Linked DNA regions of Homo sapiens: region 1 is linked to region 2. Evidence: promoter capture Hi-C in 16 types of primary human blood cells and fetal thymus (Javierre and others, 2016). All regions are on one chromosome and are shown on one strand. Each heading gives the region's core, a stretch centred on a gene start or on the middle of the fragment in contact. The rest is flanking DNA. Distances are from core to core; before and after follow the strand shown.

Region 1 (2,700 bases), core at 50-2,549, 160 kb after region 2:
AGATCAGCCAACTATCTACCTCTGACTGCTTCCTTTTTTACTGCCCTCTTTGTAAAAGAAGCTGCTCCTGCTGCTAGCTCTCTATATCTGTAGTCCAAGTGCTGCTGCTGAGGCTGTTGGTTTATGCAGCGTGTGATTTCCCTGGAACTATTTACACTGCAGGATTTTTTTTTTTTTTTTTTGAGACGAAGTCTCACTCTGTTGCCCAAGCTGGAGTGCAATGGCGCAATCTCTGCTCACTGCCAACCTCCACCTCCTGGGTTCAAGCGATTCTCCTGCCTCAGCCTCCTGAGTAGCTGGGACTACAGGTACACACCACCATGCCTGGCTAATTTTTTTGTATTTTTAGTAGAGATGGGGTTTCACTATGTTGGCCAGGCTGGTCTTGAACTCCTGACCTCGTGATCCACCTGCTTTGGCCTCCCAAAGCGCTGGGATTACAGGTGTGAGCCACCGCGCCCAGCCCTACACTGCAGGATTTTTTTAACTTGGGAAGATTATGATCTGCCCTGGAGTCAAGTGGCTAAGAGTGAGAATAACAGTGAGAATCAGGGAGAATTCTCAGAACTAACAGAGCATGAGAAAATATTTACTAACATGGACAAAAGCAGAGGTAGAAATTTTTTTCTGCTACACACTCTGGCTCCCCAACTTGATCTTCACACTTCTTTTGTTTTTAATGACTGAAGTGAAAAGTTCTGTCATATAAAATTATTTTCCTATCAATAAACATACCACAAACCACATGTGCTGGTCCTTAGCCAGAAACTTGGGTGTGGCGTCTTGTGGTATGTAGTGACCAGTTGCACTCCACTGGTTCATGACAATGAGGGGGAAAGAAGCCCAGCAGCTTCATGCCATCTGGTTTTTCTCTTTGTTCTTAACAGTGACAAGGAGTGGAAAGGAAGCCCTTTTGCCAAGCAGCGTCTGTGCTGGAAATAGAGCAAGCAGGCAGTTATCTTACTGAGCAACTTCTTCTACAGGGGGGTTTTCTCTGTGTTCGAGTTCCAAGGCACAATCCTCAAGCAGGTTTTCACTGAGGGGCAGTCAGTGCAGAGCTGGGGACACTTTCTCCATTGGATCTGCTATCCAAATGTTTGGATCAAAAAAGGCAAACTAGAATATATAGGGAAACAGTCTAAAAGCATAAAATGTTAGTGTTAGGTTAGTTGATCACCTAGTATGATTTTTTCATTTTACAGATGAGGACATGAGGCCCAGAGAGGTAAAGGTTTTTTTTTTTTTTTTGGAGACAGAGTCTTGTTTTGTCATCCAGGCTGCAGTGCAGTGGCGTGATCTCAGCTCTCAGCGCACCGCAACCTCTACCTCCCAGGTTCAAGCGATTCTCCTGCCTCAGCCTCCTGAGTAGCTGGGATTACAGGCACCTGCCACCATGCCTGGCTAATTTTTGTATGTTTAGTAGAGACGAGGTTTCACCGTGTTGGCCAGGCTGGTCTCAAACTCCTGGCCTCAAGTGATCTGCCTGCCTTGGCCTCCCAAAGTGCTGGGATTACAGGCGTCAGCCACCACGCCCAGCTGGTAAAGGGTTTTCCATTGGCCAGGTGCAGTGACTCATGCCTGTAATCCCAGCACTTCGGGAGGCCAAGGTGGGAGGATTGCTTGAACTCAGGAGTTCAAGACCAGCCTGGGCAACAAAGTGAGACCCTGTCTCTACAAACAATAGAAAACATTAGCTGGGCACGGTGGCATGTGCCTGTAGTCCCAGCTACTCAGGAGGCTGAAGTAGGAGCGTCTGAGCCCATGAGGTTGCGGCTGCAATGAGCCAAAGTCATGCCACTGTACTCCAGCCTGGGTGACAGAGTCAGACCCTGTCTCAAAAAAAAAACACAAAAACCTTACCCATCACATCTCCTTTTCTCTTCTAAATGTGAATAAAAATGAGGAAAAGGCCAGGCGCAGTGGCTCATGCCTGTAATCCCAGCACTTTGGGGGGCTGAGGCGTGTGGATCACGAGGTCAGGAGATGGAGACCATCCTGGCTAACACGGTGAAACCCCGTCTCTACTAAAAATACAAAAAAATGAGCCGGGCATGGTGGTGGGCGCCTGTAGTCCCAGCTACTTGGGAGGCTGAGGCGGGAGAATGGCGTGAACCTGGGAGGCGGAGCTTGCAGTGAGCGGAGATCGCAGCACTGCACTCCAGCCTGGGTGACAGAGCGAGACTCTGTCTCAAAAAAAAAAAAAAGGAAAAATATAAGAAGAGAAGGGCAGTTTAATGGCAAATAGACTACAGATGATCCTCCAACTTACAATGGTTAGACTTATCATTTTTTGATTCTAGGATGATGTGAAAGCAATAGTCAGTAGAAACTGTAGTTGAAATTATTAATTTAGATCTTTTCCTGAGCTAGCGATATGCAGGTATGATATTCTCTAATGCTGGGCAGCAGCAGGAGTCAAAGCAGTCAGCCGTGCAGTCATGAGAGTAAACAACCAGTATTCTACAGTGTACTGTTTTGCCAGATGATTTTGCCCAACTGTAGGCTAGTGTAAGTGTTCTGAGCAGGTTTAAGGTAGGCTAGGCTGAACTATGATGTTTGTTTGGTAGGTTAGGTGTATTAAATGCATTTTCAACTTAGATATTTTCAATTTATGATGGGTTTATTGGGATAACACTCATTGTAAGTTGAGGGACATCTCTGTAGTCTTTTCTTTAGTACTGCAGTCTCTCAGGAATGGAC
Region 2 (2,700 bases), core at 149-2,648:
AACAAGAGTGAAACTCCATCTCACAAAAAAAAAAGGGATATTTTGTCCTGGCTTTAGTTAGGAATCGTGCCATTTCTCAGAACTCACATCTTTTTTTTTTTTTTTTTTGAGCCAGAGTCTGGCTCTGTGCCCAGGCTGAAGTGCAATGGCAGGATCTCAGCTCACTGCAACCTTGGCCTCCCAGGTTCAAGCAATTCTCCTGCCTCAGCCTCCTGAGGAGCTGGGACTACAGGCGCACGCCACCACACCCAGCTAATTTTTGTATTTTTAGTAGAGTCAGGGTTTCACCATTTTGGCCAGGATGGTTTTCAACCTCTTGACCTCGTGATTCATCCGCCTTGGCCTCCCAAAGTGCTGGGATTACAGGCGTGAGCCACTGCACCTGGCCAAGAACTCACATTTTATAGACAGAAATCCACAGCCGATCTGCTTTCTGTCTTTGCTTTGCCTGCTAAGAGGCTCAGAATTAAATCCATGGCCCAACTCTCAGGTGGACAGACCTCACAGCATATGTTTTGGAAGCCATGCTCCTAGACTATTTCACGCTCCACTCTAATCCTCATTGTTCTTGCTCACTCCCTCTATCGTGTAGTTCCATCATCACAAACCCTTTTTTGAACAAGATCTGGTAGAAGACACACTCTTTGTAGGTCTGGGTTTGGAAGTCCCTGAATACAAACCTATGGGCTAAGATGCTCTCATGCCTGCTTCCACCCACAACACACATACAGGGAAGGGCTGGTGCCCACTCACCTGGGATGAGGATGCTTCCCTCCAGGTAGCCCCCAGTTCTCATGGCCAGCCACAGGCCCGCTGGGATGGAGCCGGGAGAGTGGAGGTTTGTGCTGGTCCACATTGCCTTCTGTGTGCCTGGGACTTAGTGTGTGAGCATGTGTCTGTGTGTTCACAGGTCAGAGGTAGAGGAAGGGCAGGGGTCCAAGGAGAGGCAGAGGAGAAGAGAGAAGTCCTGGGGCAGGGAAGCAGAGAGGCAGAGGAGAAACAGCTTGGGCAGGGGTGGGGGGTGTTGAGGCGGTGGAGCAGGAGACAAGCCTGGAAGGGGTCCTGGGGTGCCTGGCACTGTCCCAGGCCTTGCCCCACCCTGGACAGAGGATGGCTGTGACAGACCCACTCCCCACCAAGTCACAGCCCCTCCAGCACTTTGAGGGACCCTGGGCATAGCTGGTCCCCACCCCTGCCCCTCACCTCCATGATGGCTCCAGAAGGGTATTCCAGCCCCAGGCAATGCCAGCCTTGGGCCTTTGAAGCTGAGCTTGTACTCAAACCTGCGTAGAGGAGGACACCCCGTCTCAGGGCTGTGGGGGTCCAGGAGCAGGAGGAGAAGGCAGAATAAGGGACCTGGACCACTGACCGCCGGCATCGTGAAGGCGCCTGAAGTCTGGGCCCCGGGGTAGATCATAGCTGGGAGGCCGGGGAGGGGATCCTGGGATAGGGCCAGGCAGGGAGGAGCTGGGGACTGGCCAGGAGCTGGGTTTTGGCACTGTCCTCTCCCTCTATCTCCAGCATAGACATCCTGTTCCTTCCAGGCCTGCTGTCAGGCCCCGCCCATCCCTCACCTCCAGTCTGACGTGGGCAGCGGGACCCCACGACAACCTGAGCTCTGCCCCTGCTCCTGACTCAGGCCATCTTTCTGTCTCCCATCACTTCCAGCAGTTGGATGCGGCAGAGGGGAAGGGGGGGTGCCCAGGGTTGGCCCCCACCCTTCAGCAGCCCTGGCCTCCCCTCCCAGTTAGGGAGACAGGCCTCCACATTCTGCCTGTGTCCCCCAGCATGGATGGCACATCTATCTGGACACCCATCCTTCTCTCCTCCCTGCCCCCTCTCTCCCTCTCCCGAATTCCCCCAGGCTCATCCTTCCAAGCAGCCTGGTTTCCTCAACAAAAGCATTACATGGAAAAAAGAAGGGAGTCTTTAGAGACAGCACAAAAACGCAACGTGCAGACCTTGTTTGGAGCCAAATTTTAACCCAACTGCAAAAAAAAAAAAAGATATTGGGGAAATTTGAACAATGGATATTTTTGAACAATGGATATTTGACTATATTGAGGAATTGTTAAAAATTTTAGGGCACTGTGGCTCATGTCTGTAATCTTAGCACTTTGGGAGCCCAAGGCAGGTGGATCACCTGAGGTCAGGAGTTCGAGACCAGCCTGGCCAACATTGTGAAACTCTGTCTCTACTAAAAAAAAATACAAAAAATTAGCCAGGCCTGGTGGTGCATGCCTGTAATCCCAGCTACTTGGGAGGCTGAGGCAGGAGAATCACTTGAACCTGGGAGGCAGAGATTGTAGTGAGCGGAGATTGCACCATTGCACTCCAGCCTGGGTGATAAGAGCAAAAATCCATTTCGAAAAAAAAAATTGAGAACTAATATGGTATTGTGGTTATGTTTTTTATTTTTTATTTTATTTTATTTATTTATTTTTTGAGACGGAGTCTCGCTCTATCGCCCGGGCTGGAGTGCAGTGGCGCGATCTTGGCTCACTGCAAGCTCTGCCTCCCGGGTTCACACCATTCTTCTGCCTCAGCCTCCCAAGTAGCTGGGACTACAGGTGCCCGCCACCATGCCTGGCTAATTTTTTGTATTTTTTAGTAGAGATGGGATTTCACCGTGTTAACCAGGGTGGTCTCGATCTTCTGACCTCGTGATCCGCCTGACTTGGCCTCCCAAAGTGTTGGGAT

Evidence for each region. Contacts are between HindIII fragments. The CHiCAGO score rates a contact against its expected background, and 5 or more counts as called.
Region 1: a fragment that was not itself captured here is called in contact with the fragment with the promoter of LMAN1L in region 2 in 3 of 17 cell types (monocytes, megakaryocytes and naive CD8 T cells); the score reaches 5.3 in monocytes.

What each region holds. Positions count from the first base shown.
Region 1 is chr15:74,651,736-74,654,435 of GRCh38, reverse strand. The region is part of intron 4 of EDC3 (enhancer of mRNA decapping 3); the gene reads left to right. Among named protein-coding and RNA genes, the nearest start is that of CLK3, 37 kb to the right of the region's middle. The HindIII fragment of the contact is 9,021 bases long and covers 1-2,700 here.
Region 2 is chr15:74,811,533-74,814,232 of GRCh38, reverse strand. It overlaps LMAN1L (lectin, mannose binding 1 like), which reads right to left and starts at 1,398. Exons shown (of 14, transcript NM_021819.3): 1 at 1,204-1,398. The coding sequence starts at 1,378. The HindIII fragment of the contact is 4,468 bases long and covers 1-2,700 here.